Linked DNA regions of Homo sapiens: region 1 is linked to region 2. The links are contacts of gene promoters, found by promoter capture Hi-C in blood cells and fetal thymus (Javierre and others, 2016). All regions are on one chromosome and are shown on one strand. Each heading gives the region's core, a stretch centred on a gene start or on the middle of the fragment in contact. The rest is flanking DNA. Distances are from core to core; before and after follow the strand shown.

Region 1 (7,468 bases), core at 3,440-5,939, 6.7 Mb after region 2:
CGTGAACCACTGCGCCCAGCCGCATGTAGTCATCTCGTATACACCTACTTCATCAGCAAAAGTGGTGATAATGGACTTGGTTGATCTTTTAGTATTCAGTAAAGTTGAGAATGGTCAAATGAAAGGGTGTAGAGGAAAAGCTTTATAAATTCAAATGTCTTATCTTATTCAAATACTTATCTAAGTATTTTATGCTGAAGTTTATAATAAAAATCAGGAATCAGGTAATATAATTCTAGTAATTTTACTTTTAAAAATTTACCTGCTAATGGTGATTGGGTCTGATTCATTTACTTTTATTTTTCACAGTGTTTTGATAAAGGTTCACATTAAAGGCCTTGGGGTGGTAATGTGATGAGAATGTCAAAGGAAGAGCTGGCTGGGGTGGTGTGAGAAAACCAGTGGTAAGAAAAGAAATGGAAGTAATAGGTAAGGACTAGATCAGGTAGGCCTTGTAGGCCATGGTAAGGACCTGAGATTTTGTGTTGCCTTTTAAAGGTTTTGGGACCATCTCAATTATAACTATGAAAGATCTGGCTGCTGTGAGGGGAACAGACTGTAGTGGAATAAGAGTGGAAGCATTGAGGCCAAGTAGAAAGCTATTGCAATAGGCAATGGTGGCCTGGACTACTATAGCAGCAGTAACAGTGATGCAAAGTATTTAATCCAGAATAAATGTTGAAGGTAGAGGGAACAGAAATGTATTGACAATTCGGCGAAGTGGGTGGATCACTTGAGGTCAGGAGTTCGAGATCAACCTGGCCAACATGGTGAAACCTCGTCTCTACTAAAAATAGAAAAATTAGATGGGCGTGGTGGCACATGCCTGTAGTCCTAGCCACTTGGGAGGCCAAGGCAGGAGAATGGCTTGAACCTGGGAGGTGGAGGTTGCAGTCAGCCCAGATCATGCCATTGCACTCCAGCCTGGATGACAGAGCGAGACTCCATCTCAAAAAAAAAAAAAAAAAAAAAAAATTATTGGCAATTGGCTGTCAATAAATTGGTGTGAGAAAAAGAGGTTTTTGGCCTGAGCCACCGAATGAATACCGTTCACACTGGTCTCCCTGCCTAGTCTATAGGAGGTGGACATTGCTTCATGGAGGCTATGTTTGAGAGGCAGGGAGATTAGTTAGGAGGCCACTGCAGTCTTCCTGGGAAGATGAAGGGGCCTGAACCTGGGCAGGGGCTATTTGTGTAGAGATATGTTTATGAGGTAAAAATCGCCAGTTAGAATAGGTTAGAGATATTTACTTAACATTGAAGATCGCTGAATCTTTTTTCCCATTAACTCCACTTATTGGTGTCTACTCAAGAGCAGGGTTACCTGAGGGCTGTTTCTGTGTAGCTCTAGAGCTAAACTAAAAATGTTTCTTAAATTTTTAAAGGATGCGAGAGAGAGAGGAATATGCAACAGAAACCATACGTGGCGCTCAAAACCAAAAATATTTACTATCTAATCCTTCCCTTATCAAACCGTTTGCCCACCTCTGCCCTAGATCAGTGGTGTTTGTTTTTTTTGAGACGGAGTTTTCACTGTTGTCACCCAGGCTGGAGTGCAATAGCGCGATCTCAGCTCACCGCAACCTCCGCCTCCCAGGTTCAAGCGATTCTCCTGCCTCAGCCTCCCGAGTAGCTGGGATTACAGGCATGCGCCACCACGCCCGGCTAATTTTGTATTTTTAGTAGAGACGAGGTTTCTCCATGTTGGTCAGGCTGGTCTCAAACTCCTGACCTCAGGTGATCCGCCCCCCTCGGCCTTCCAAAGTGCTGGGATTACAGTCGTGAGCTGCCGCGCCCGGCCTATATCAGTGGTTTTTAAAGTGTGGCTCCTAGAGCAGCAGTAGCACCATCAGCTGAGAACTTGTTAGAAGTGCAAATTCTCGGGCCTCTGTTGAATCAGAAACTTAGGGAGTGGGGCCCAACTATCTGTTTTAACAAGCCCTACAGGTGATTTCGGTGCACATTAAGGTCTGAGAACCACTGCTCTAGAGAAAGTTCTGCACCTCTGCAGGATACATGGTGAAGAATATTTATAATAGCATTGCACGGAAGAGCTCCAAACCGGAAACACTTGAAGGTTAGTCAGCAGTAGGGCAGATAAGTGAATTGCGGCAATTAGTACAATGGGAGTATTCTATAGTTTGCCTGAGGGTATGGACTGTGGAGGCAGATTGCCTGTGTTTGAATCCCAGCTCCAGTGAATAGTAGCAGTGTAGTCCTGGGTAAGTTACTTGACCTCTCCAAGCCTGTTTTCTCATCTATAAAATGGGCATAAAAATAGCAACTACTGGCCGGGTGCGGTGGCTCACGCCTGTAATCCCAACACTTTAGGAGGCCAAGGCGGGCGGATCACGAGGTCAGGTGTGTTCGAGACCAGCCTGGCCAACATAGTGAAACCTCGTCTCTACTAAAAATATAAAAATTAGTTGGGTGTGGTGGCATGCGCCTGTAGTCCCAGCTACTAGGGAGCCTGAGGCAGGAGAACCGCTTGAACCCGGGAGGCGGAGGTTGCAGTGAGCCAAGACCGTGCCATTGCACTCCAGCCTGGGCGACACAGAGAGACTCCATCTTAAAAAAAAAAAAAAAAAAAAAATATATATATATATATATATATATGTACATACATATAGCAACTAGCTCATAGGGTTACTGTGAGGCTCAGAAGGCTGTATAATTACAAGAATGCCTGGTATATAAGCCCAGTATATTAAAGGACAGCCGGCATGTAATGTATTTTGATGCTTTAAGGAAAAACATCAGGTTGATTTCATTAAAGTGATGGTCTGCCCAAATATTTTGCATATAACAGTATCTTTAAGCAGTCTAAAGGTAAAGATATTGTAGACTTTGGAGGCCCTAATGTTGGCATTGCCTCTGCCAATATTTAAGGTATTTGACGTATTGTCTTAACATGCCAAATACCTTAAAATTGCCCTTACAGGATTGCGAAGAAAACTGATGAGATGTACATGCTTGCGTCCACCATGTTTAGTTCGTAAGCATTCATTAATGTATTTTTTCCTTTCCGTTTCTTTGAACACTTCCTCAGTCCTTCATTCCAAAATTCCTGTGCTATCTCGGTATTCTCTGAAAACACTGCCAGACCTAAGATGCAAAGTGGCTTCCTTGACTACAAGATTTGGCTTGGCTTTGTCCATGAAACAAGGTCACCAGTGTCTCACCCTGGGGGCAAGTCTGGGCTTAGAGCTAGAACAGGACTGTAATCCTTGTATTTCAGGCCTTCTTTTAGCTTTAGTATGTAAAATGCTTTAGTATCTACTGATATTTAGCCATGCCTAAATTCGTAACAAGGACACAAAGAAATAGTCTTTTCCCCCTCTGTAAAGCCCACGTCATGTTCTTCCTTTACTGCAGGGCCTCTTAATGGGGCTTAAAACCTAGGATGGGTTAAGTAAACAATGTAGGTGAGTTTAGTGTGCAAACAGCTGAAATCACCGGCTGCATTTTAAGCTCGTCTACAGCAGCAACCTGCAGACACCTATTCAGAGAGATTACTAAATTCCCTCCTTCCCATTAATAAAAAGGACCAGAATATCAGTCTACAAAAGACACTGCGTTGCTGCGAACCAGCTCTCGCTTGCGCGATCAGGAAGAAGGGCGGCAAGGCTGGAGCCTCGGGACCGGAGAAAGGCAGCCTGCTTGTGACGTCAAATCAGCGGACTCTTATCTTGGCTTTAGGCCGGTTCCGGTTCCCCGGCTTTCCGGGCGCGAGCGTGTGCGAGCGCGGCAGCGTACTGCGCGTGCTCCGCAGAGGGACACGGGAAGGTTGGGTCCGGCTCTGGAGGAGATGCGTGATTGGCTGACGCTGTGCTCGGGGGTTCCCTGGCCCTTTCGGCAGGGGTAAAACAATAAGAGGGGGCGGTGGCAAAGGGGGCGGGACGTCCGTGGTCCTTGTCGCACGTCGCAGCGCCTGGCGCCCGGGAAGAGGTGGTTGTGAGGCAGACGAACTCGCGGCTCTCCGGCTTCCGAGGCTTCCGAGTTGTCGGAGGAAGGGGGCGGCGAGCAATAAGAACCCGCCGCACCCGGTCCTCAGCGACTCTTCTGACCTCCGCGCGACGTACCCGCCGCCGCCGTTGGCTGGAGGTGTGTACGGGCGCCGGGAGGGGAGGTCGGTGTGGTGGTCGGAAAGGGACATTCCATTCGCGCTCCGCGGCGCGAGGCAATCGTCCGGTGTGTGAGCCCGGGAGCCGGAGGTGTAGCGGCAGAGACATTGTTCTTGCCGGCTCCCTACGGTGCCGTGTGTGCGTGAGAGAAGACCAGTCTTTCCTCTAGGTGAGGGGTGGGAGGCCGCCTGGGAAGGGAGGTGACCCGCGAGCGTCTTGCGGGCAGAGGGCTCCGAGTGCACAGGTGGGGTTGAGGTTTATTGGGGATGAGGTGGCGAAGTGGGGGGGGAGGCACGCAGCAGCTCCCGAAGGCGCGCTGATGGAAGCTTAATACAGGAAGTGTGGGAGCAGGCTTTCTGGAGGGGATGTTTTAGGGTGGGTAGCCCACCGTTCCTGTTTCCGAATCGTTTTCGGCTCTTGTACCTTGTTCCTTCGGAGCGGAGAGGCCGTCGCCACCCCGCCCGTGGGGGGAGGGGAAAAGAGGTTGTGTCGACGGAGGCAGAAGCGACGCAGATGCGAAAGTGGCGGCCTCCGGGCACCATTTCTGTGCACGGAAACAGAATCCGGGTTTGAAGGCAGCCGCCGCTTCGCTTACCCAGTACCTAGTGTTCCGTCGTGTTTGACCAACCCCCCTCTCCCTGCCACCGCGGGTTTAATCCGAACGTGTTCGGATACTGGAACTGTAACGTGCGCCTTCTTCGTCCCCCTCTTATGCAGACGATCCCTTATTGACTCGGGAATGGCTTTTGGGGGATGGGTTCCCGCTTTTGTTGGGATGGGGGGACAGAAAGGAACAGAAGCTTCCCTAGATTGTGTTGATTTTGTTAGTGGAATCTGATAGAATTTTTCCTGCGTCTCTAAAAGCAGATTTCTTAAGATGGCCCTTTGCCGCTTTGGGGCGAATATAGATTTTCGTCTATAATTTCCTGCATAGATCAGCTTTTTTCCCCAAGACATACTTAATGTTCTAACGGATTTGGGGGGTGGGAGGAGAGTGCCTTTTCCTTCATAACAACAACAAAAAAAAGGCACTTGCACTTTTAGCTGGAATAGTAAAGTCCTGTTCTCCCTGTATGATTGTTGTGGGATATTAACTTGGATTAAGATACTGTGGTTTTAGGTTCAAGGCTCTGTACCTTGTTCTGGTCTTTCAAACGTTAGTGTTGCAGGTACCTGGATCTAGGAAACATTAACTGTCGTTAAGAGAGCCCCGGTGTACTAGAGTGGGAGATGATGGCAATTTTTCTCTAGCTCCATATTTGGCAGTTAATATAGCCTTAGGCATGTGAACCAAGTTTCTAAGTAAACTTTTGGCCCTGTTAGCATCCAGTGGTCTTTTTGATAATCCAAGATTCCTGGTCTTAGGAGATAAACGGTACGATGAGTTTGAACCTCAGGATTGAATTATCCTTTCTTTGGCAGTAACATTTTTCTTAAATGTTTAAGATTACTCTTATGGGCCTTTATGTTATGATTTAATCTTTACAAACTAATTCTGAAAAGCAGTCAAGGAATTGTAGGAATAATAAGGACCTAGAATGAATTTCTTACTAAGAGCTGTCATAGTTCAGATTGATATTCAGGGTCGAAATATTAGTAATAGTGAAAAAACATCAAGAGTGAACCAGAATGCTTGTGGGATGGATGGGGATAAAAATTAGAAGGTAAAGAAGAAAACACATTATTTGACCATTTCGTAGAGTAACTAACTTAACTGTTCAGTTAGCAGCTGAGCAGTTGATTTGTCAGCAGGCAACTCCTGGTTTGAAGAAAGTGTTGGCACTGTGTCTTTAGATTCTGAAAACTTCCCTCCTTATCCTGCAAAATTATCGCTGTTTATTACGCATAATTAGGATTGAACATTTTCCCCCTAGATTGCTTTAAAAAGACTTTCCACATATTTTGAGTGAATATGGAGACAGTGAATGACTCCTTTTCAATGTTGATTTTGAAAGGCACAAACTAAAGTGTTGCGTCTGAACTTAAATTCAGTAGAATTTAATGGACAAACATGACCTAGTTACTCTCCACTGGTAGACACTTGTTTTATATCCGATAGAATAAATTGGTCCACCCACCTTCAGGAAGGTCCTGGCCTACCTTCAGAAGCAATAGAATTAGTTTCTTGACTGTCGTGTTTCTGCTTACTTTTATCTGCTAATTTCCAAGTATTTTACCCTATCTTGAAACCATAGGTATATTGAAAATTATTCTTGGATTTTCTGTTGCTGTCCTGCTGTATTCCTTTGCTTTTCACTCTTCTCAACAGTTTCACATAAGCTAACAATTGCTTGTTTAAAATTAATTTTTTGTATTGTTGGAAGAGCTGGCTGCTCTTCCAAAGCGGTTGTTCCTAACCAAAGTGTAATGAAAACATCAGTTGAGTCAGGAGTCAGGAGACCTGATTTCAAATCCTCTTTCTTTTTACTGTAACTGAGGAACCCCAAACACCTTTCCTTAGGCTCTCTAAACATCCTTTTCTGTAAATGAAGATAATGCCCTATCTATTTTAAAGACAAAAGAAAATAGTAGGTTACTTGTTAAACTTTAAAACATAGTATAAATACATGCTTTATTTTTGTGGACAGCAAGCATTTCCATTTCTTACTGCTTGGTCACTTTTAATAGCTTCTGAATTTTAAAACTAGCCTCCCTCAACTTCTGAGAAGGACAGAAAACAAAAACACCTTTTGGAGCCTGAATAAGAGATTTAATCCATAACTTACTTTTATTATTTATTTGTACCACTATGATTCTTAGATCTTCTTTGTGAAGCTTTCATTCAATGGTGTACCACAAAAGATTGAAGGTCATTTCTTTAAAAAGGTATAGTGTTCCTTAGATTGTTTAAGTTACTTCAAACAAAAACCATCTGGAATTTCAGAAAGTTCCAGTATTAATATGCATTTAGCTGTTGGAAATGGATATAGTCCATGGTTCAATTAAAATAAATAAACCTGACTAGTTTGAGCCCAGCTATGAGTGAGGGACTCCAGAGGGGAAAGGGGTAAGTATCCTATAGTGGAGATAAGCTGTGTCTTAGCACCCACATAACCTTTGGTAACAGTATCTGGTAAAGAGAACTGCCTCCTATTACTAGAGGTCTTATTCTTTTTATAATAACTAATACCAAGTACTTACAACTCAGCTCACTGCAACCTCCGCCCCCGGGTTCAAGCGATTCTCCTGCTTCAGCCTCCTGAGTAGCTGGGATTACAGGCGCCCGCCACTGCACACGGCTAACTTTTTTGTGTTTTTAGTAGAGATGGGTTTTGCCATGTTGGTCAGGCTGGTCTCGAACTCCTGACCTCAGGTGATCCACCCATCTCGGCCTCCCGAAGTGC
Region 2 (6,540 bases), core at 671-3,170:
ATTAAACAGACTTCCCTTCAGTCAATCATCTTAGTTGTATCTAACCCGGAATATATGGTTTGAGCACCATATCCACTTTATCCTTTGCTAATATTCTGGCAGGTGGAGACAAATGTGGAGTCACTACCACTTTACGGTAAACATTCTTGGTATTACCTTTATGTGACTTGATTATTACGGGAGTTTGGTAAGATTATATTTTTAGGACGTTTTCAGAATTTGACCTGTATTCTTGAGTTTTAATTATTCTGTAATGTAAATTCTACTAACTTGATTAATAAAACTTACTTATAATCTTCCTTTGAGATTTTTGGATAGTGTCCAATTAATACAAATTCGTTTAACTGCAGTGGAAAATACCTAAACTTTTTTTTTTTTTTTTTTTTTGAGACGGAGTCTCGCTCTGTCGCCCAGGCTGGAGTGCAAGTGGCATGATCTCGACTCCCTGCAATCTCCACCTCCCGGGTTCAAGCGATTCTCCTGCCTCAGCCTCCTGAGTACCTGAGATTACAGGTACCGGCCACCACGCCCGGCTAATTTTTGTATTTTTAGTAGACACGGGGGTTTCACCATGTTGGTCAGGCTTGTCTCGAACTCCTGACCTCGTGATCCGCCCGCCTCGGCCTCCCAAAGTGCTGGGATTACAGGCGTGAGCCACCGCGCCCGGCCCAAATACTTAAACTCTTAAGATTTTTGCTGGAGTCTGCAAACTCGTCTTTGTTTCCCCCGTGCCCGAACACTTTAATTAAACAGGCAAATAATTATTTGTTGACTACAGAAGTACCTAGAAGCTTCATTTTCTTCTAAGGATACTGCTGGAAGCAGCAAATCCCAAAGCCCGAATAATCCAGTCTCCAGCCGAGGCAGCGGGAATTTTTAATAGGTGTATAAAATTACTTTTTATACACCTTAATGAAACGCCTAACGGTGTTACAAGAAAAGAAAAAAAAAAACCACGCACACACAACAAAAAAGCCAAACCCGAACACAAACTCATAAACCTCGTAAAGATGACTCACGACATTTATATATTCTATGTACAAAGGCTAAAGAACATTAAGCGAACCCTTGATTTAACACACTTTCCAATTATTAGTAACGTAAAGGAATCACGGTACGTTTTAGGATCTTTAAACAACAAAAGCAAAGCAAAAACAATGTTTTCCTTAAGATATGCAAGTTACCTGCTTCTTCGACCAAAAACAAAAAAATTCCAGGAGAAAAGCAGGCAAACAAAAATCTTACTTGGAAAGCCAAATCTTAAAAAGAAGCCCTATCGGCCCAGCGGCGATAGACGAAAACCTCAATGTCACCCGGTCCCGGGCGGCGACGGCAGGGAGAGTAGCTGCGGCAATCAGTGCGCGCGCGGTCCGCTGCGGCGCCTGGCGCTCCGCGGGCGTCCGGGTGGACAGCGCCAGGGGCACAGGGCTGACATCTCAGGGCTAATTCCCTCCTCCAGTGCGTAAATCCAGGCTTAAGCCGCCGCAGGGTGTGAGCCTCCCCTCCCCCACCCGAACGCCGCAGCTGCACGGGGCACGACAGCCTTCGCAGAGGTGCAGCCACACCCCGGCCTAACGCTGCTGCTCCCGCCGCTACTGGAGTGGTGGGGAGGGGTGAGTGGACTCCAGGAATCCTCGGAAGGGCGGGGGCGGAGGCAGGGGGCCCCTCTAGCCGCTACTTCGAAACAGCACTCCTTGTTCTCGATGGTCCCCGCGCGACTGTCTTAGCTCACGACACTTCCGGTTCCTTTTAAAGGCCCCCAAGGCTGTGCAACGCGGAGCGTGAGAGGAAGGTATAAAGGGTAGCGAGAGGGCGGGACCGAGGAGGAAAGGGAAAAAAAAAAAACTAGGGGGATAGGGGTGGGGGGACGCGCGAAGGGCGCGCTCTCGCGTCACGTGACCGGGACGCGCCGTTCTTCCGTCGGCCATTTTAGGTGGTCCGCGGCGGCGCCATTAAAGCGAGGAGGAGGCGAGAGCGGCCGCCGCTGGTGCTTATTCTTTTTTAGTGCAGCGGGAGAGAGCGGGAGTGTGCGCCGCGCGAGAGTGGGAGGCGAAGGGGGCAGGCCAGGGAGAGGCGCAGGAGCCTTTGCAGCCACGCGCGCGCCTTCCCTGTCTTGTGTGCTTCGCGAGGTAGAGCGGGCGCGCGGCAGCGGCGGGGATTACTTTGCTGCTAGTTTCGGTTCGCGGCAGCGGCGGGTGTAGTCTCGGCGGCAGCGGCGGAGACACTAGCACTATGTCGGAGGAGCAGTTCGGCGGGGACGGGGCGGCGGCAGCGGCAACGGCGGCGGTAGGCGGCTCGGCGGGCGAGCAGGAGGGAGCCATGGTGGCGGCGACACAGGGGGCAGCGGCGGCGGCGGGAAGCGGAGCCGGGACCGGGGGCGGAACCGCGTCTGGAGGCACCGAAGGGGGCAGCGCCGAGTCGGAGGGGGCGAAGATTGACGCCAGTAAGAACGAGGAGGATGAAGGGTGAGTAAGGGGCATCCCAGGATAGTCAGGCCCAACTAGTCCCCCTCCCCCTCTTTATTCCCCCGCCATTAGGCCTGGTTCCCGCTCTCAGCCCGTTCTCCGGGCCCCCATGCAGCCTCCTTGCACTGGTCTCCCTTTTTCTATGTTGGGTTCCCCGGACCTTCATTTCCTTCTTCCTTTGCCTGCTTATCGCCCCCCTCCCCCATCACACACGTTTCCACCTTTAGCCGTCACCATGCTGCTCCTCGGCCCGCCCTCCTTTCCTCCCTCGCCATGGGTCTCCTCCCACCGACTTAGCCGCCAGGATTTTTTCCCGCCTGTCGTGGGGTACCTTTTTTCTTTCCATGCTGTCCCCTCTTTTTCCCTTTTTCTACAGTCTTGGGCATAAAAACACAGACACAAACAGCTTCTCTGTTTGTATTACTAAGGTTTATTTGGTGCTTCTCCACCATCCTGAAACGATGCGATTGTTTATAAGCACATGTTTTGGGGAACGCGTAGGCTGTCCACCTCTGCCTCTCCCTTGTCGGCCTTAGGCCGACTGTTTTCTTGGGATTTTGAATAAGTTTCGCCTAAGGATTTACTCATTTTCTCCACCATACGCTATCGCACAATGGCATACTCATACAGGCCCTACATTTTGACATGCAGACCAAATTGGGTCTGGTGAAATGCTCCGAGTTTCTTGTTGGTACATTGGTTTTGCTCCGCGGGCTCTGGTTAAGTTCTTAGTCGATCGGGCCTGCACTTGACTGGAGCTGTTCCTATCTCCGGCCTAGCATCTACCCTTCCCCCACCCCACTGAGTTATTCTAACCGCGCACCCTTTTCGCGCCCTCAGCTATTGGGTTCCCCAACTGTTAGTACAGATTGTACCTTACTTTTTATGTGCAACCTAATTTTTTACAACCCCCAGCCCCCTTTTTTTCCCGGTGCCCAGGATCCTATTTTGGTGTCTTGATATCTGTTTCCCGCCCACTAAGGGAGGCCTGTAGTCCTCTTAAGAGAAACAAATCCTGTATTGTGCTATGGGATACTTTTTTTTTCTTTTTGGTGCAAATTTCTTAGTATTAACTTGCTTCCTCCAATTGAAATAACAGTTGTATATACTACCTAAATCTGCATTTAGTGTATTAAAATGCAGCATTTGGGATTGGGAACATAATACGGGAGTTAGCAGGAGGGACTAAATCAGGTTTCTTGGTTGAGTTTTCTTAGCTCCGATTACTGACCGATGATCGTGGGTTCACGCTTCCATTCCTTTTTGTAATGGGGAGGGGTGTGTGTGTGTCTGAATTTTTTTTTAACTGTAAAGAGAAAGGTGTTGGTGGATATAACAAGATGTCGCTTTAATCTAGTATTAGAAAACACGATTTCCTTTACTGAGAAAGAGCCCAGGATTTGGAGGGAAAGTTGGGAGGGGAGAAGCACTTTGGAATATAGGGTTTATTAAGCCCAGCCTAGGCAGATTCTTGTCAGGCTGTTTGATGATAGTGCTGGTTTTGGGGGAGTGGTGGTGGGAAGGGAAGCAAACTTTTAAAAATTAAACAGAACCAACTCGAATTGTATATAGCTTATTTGAGAAAGGAAGATGTTAGATATTTGGAAACTTAAAACCTTTAACATTTTGGTTTTCGTTTGCTGAATTCTGTTCTTTGGACAGAGGCACCAAAATGATTAATTGTATAACTTCCTGTTTGGGGCAGGCTTTCTGTTAGCCCTGATAATTCAAATCGCAAAGCAGCTGACTTTATAGTTACCTACTGTTGAAGTGTAAATGAATTAAAGTTTTTAACCCTAACAGTGTCAAAAACTAAAACTAGAATTTTGATTGGTTGCTGTACCGGTTGTTAATTCCCTAGCCATTCAAACTCCTCCCCACGACACTCTGAAGCAGCGACGGCACAGCGGGAAGAATGGTAAAACTTTTAAATTTTATTTCTGTATTATAAAGGTTTCAGTAGTCATAATATGTAGAGGCTGTGTATTGGTTAGTTGCCCATTGATCCCCAGGAAATTCTAGACCATAGTACATACAGTAGGTTTGTACCTGGGATATATACCTTTTATAGGCATCATGTGTAATCTTTGGGCAAAATTGATGCCGTTACATGGTATTTGGTCTGTGGTAATGCATGTAGTTGCAGTTTGGCAATTTAAGCTAAACAATTAGTAACGATATTTTTATATCGAGCAAGAAAAAATATTACCGTAATCTTCACATTTGATTTATTTTAAGATGAAAAATATTTTTGTTGGAATTTAAGTTTAATGGCTAAATATGAAGACTCCTTGATATAAAATATTGTGTTTAAAATGTCATGCATGTTATACTGAAATATTCTGGAGATGTCTGAAGCAGTTCTTTAAGCAGCACTGTGTATTATGGAAAAATGTTTGTCTTTTACCTAGCATATTTGTAAATAGACCTTTAATAAGAAGTGTGTGTGTGTGTGTGTGTGTGTATATATATACCATTAAAAGGTGGGCTAATGTGGCTTTCCACTACAGCTCTTACCAGATTTTTTATTTTCAGTGTGATTTGGCTGGAATATTAATAACAGTTGGTTGACATGTATTCACAATTGCATGACTTCTCTTTGGAGGCTGGTAGGTTGAGTATTGTTCTTTTTATCCATCCTTTCCCCTCCCCTAAATGTCAGTCTTTCTGCTTTTAGGATTATATTTGAATTTTCAGGGGTTTATACACCACCACTGGAGAGTAGAAGGCCACTAACTTGCAGGCAGTTAACTTATATCTTTACAAGCTACATTCTATTTTAAGAGCCTATTTAGGGTAACATTTAAAGATTTGCTTATCACTGTATTCTCATCCACTGAAATCAGTCCAGCTTTACCTTGGAGAAAAAGCAGATGGGAAACAGGCAAGGGGAAAAGCAAAAAAGAGGAAAAAAAAAAGACTGGGGTCACAGTTTCGATGAATGTTATTCCCTGTATTTGGTGAGTGGTGGGCACTAGCAGCTCAATTTCACTGCTAGCTAATAGTGGCAAATTAAGATTAAACTATAAACTATTTGACATTACTCCATTATGTATTTTGAGTCTCATGTAATTGTTTCCAGTGATTTGAAATGACCATAAACTTAAATTTGAAGGTCAGTGTTTTGACTCTTCGAAGTAATTACACTTGACCTGCTACCTAAAACGATGTAATATTACAACTTTTTTGAATAATCTCAGGAAAAATGGAGAAATGTTTATATTCATAGTTAATAAACATTCTAGATAGTAACCAACTGTCATTTACTGAAAATAAAATTTTACCCAGGTTTATTTTATTTTTGAGACGGAGTTTAGCTTTTGTTGCCCAGGCTGGAGTGCAGTGGTGTGATCTTGGCTCAGCGCAACCTCCACCTCCCAGGTTCAAGCAATTCTCCTGCCTCAGCCTCCAAAGTAGTTGGGATTACAGGCATATTCCACCATGCCTGGCTAATTTTGTATTTTTAGTAGAGACAGGGTTTCTTCATGTTGGTCAGGCTGGTCTCGAACTCCCGACCTCAGGTGATCCGCCTGCCTCGGCCTCCCCAAGTGCTGTAATCACAGGCGTGAGCCACTGCGCCCGGCCTAGCCAGGTTGATTTTAAAATTACACTTAAAAATAATGTTCTCATTTTTAAGGGCTCTAATATTTGACTTTTCTTAACTTTCCAATTATGCAGCCCTATCCTGTTCCAGACGTTAAGGCTTTCTTTTTGAATGAAAAACTTTCAGACTTTTTTCTCTCTCTTTTTTTTTTTTTGGTGTCTGCACTCCCCACCGTATCTGTCCCTTCCTCTTTCTCCCATTTTGAGGGATATTATAAGGGCAACAGTTTTATAGTCTCAATATTGAGGGTAAGACTGGTTAATAGAGTATCCAAATTGAATTTATTAAACACAGTTCTGTGTGCATTTCCTTCTGCAAATCTGAGAATAAAGTGATTACAGTTTCATCCTAAAATACTTTAAAAATCAGTTGGTTTTAGAAATAGGTTTTTTTCCTTTTGCATGTAAGAATGGACAGCTATTTTTAGGAAGGCATGCCTGTTACACCTCTAGTGGATGTTTCTACAGTTTA

Evidence for each region. Contacts are between HindIII fragments. The CHiCAGO score rates a contact against its expected background, and 5 or more counts as called.
Region 1: a contact is called between a fragment that was not itself captured here and the fragment with the promoter of HNRNPD in region 2, in 1 of 17 cell types (fetal thymus). The highest score is 6.0, in fetal thymus.

The regions. Positions count from the first base shown.
Region 1 is chr4:75,669,844-75,677,311 of GRCh38, reverse strand. G3BP2 (G3BP stress granule assembly factor 2) reads left to right here and starts at 3,901. Exons shown (of 12, transcript NM_203505.3): 1 at 3,901-4,104. RefSeq lists enhancers at 1,111-2,087, 2,088-3,065, 3,802-4,091, 4,372-4,611, 4,044-5,021. The HindIII fragment of the contact is 474 bases long and covers 4,453-4,926 here.
Region 2 is chr4:82,369,371-82,375,910 of GRCh38, reverse strand. HNRNPD (heterogeneous nuclear ribonucleoprotein D) reads left to right here and starts at 1,920. Exons shown (of 9, transcript NM_031370.3): 1 at 1,920-2,465; 2 at 4,327-4,383. The coding sequence starts at 2,233. HNRNPD-DT (HNRNPD divergent transcript) reads right to left here and starts at 1,343. Exons shown (of 2, transcript NR_183813.1): 1 at 1,246-1,343. RefSeq lists enhancers at 1,792-1,961, 3,322-3,371 and a silencer at 2,322-2,421. The HindIII fragment of the contact is 7,055 bases long and covers 794-6,540 here.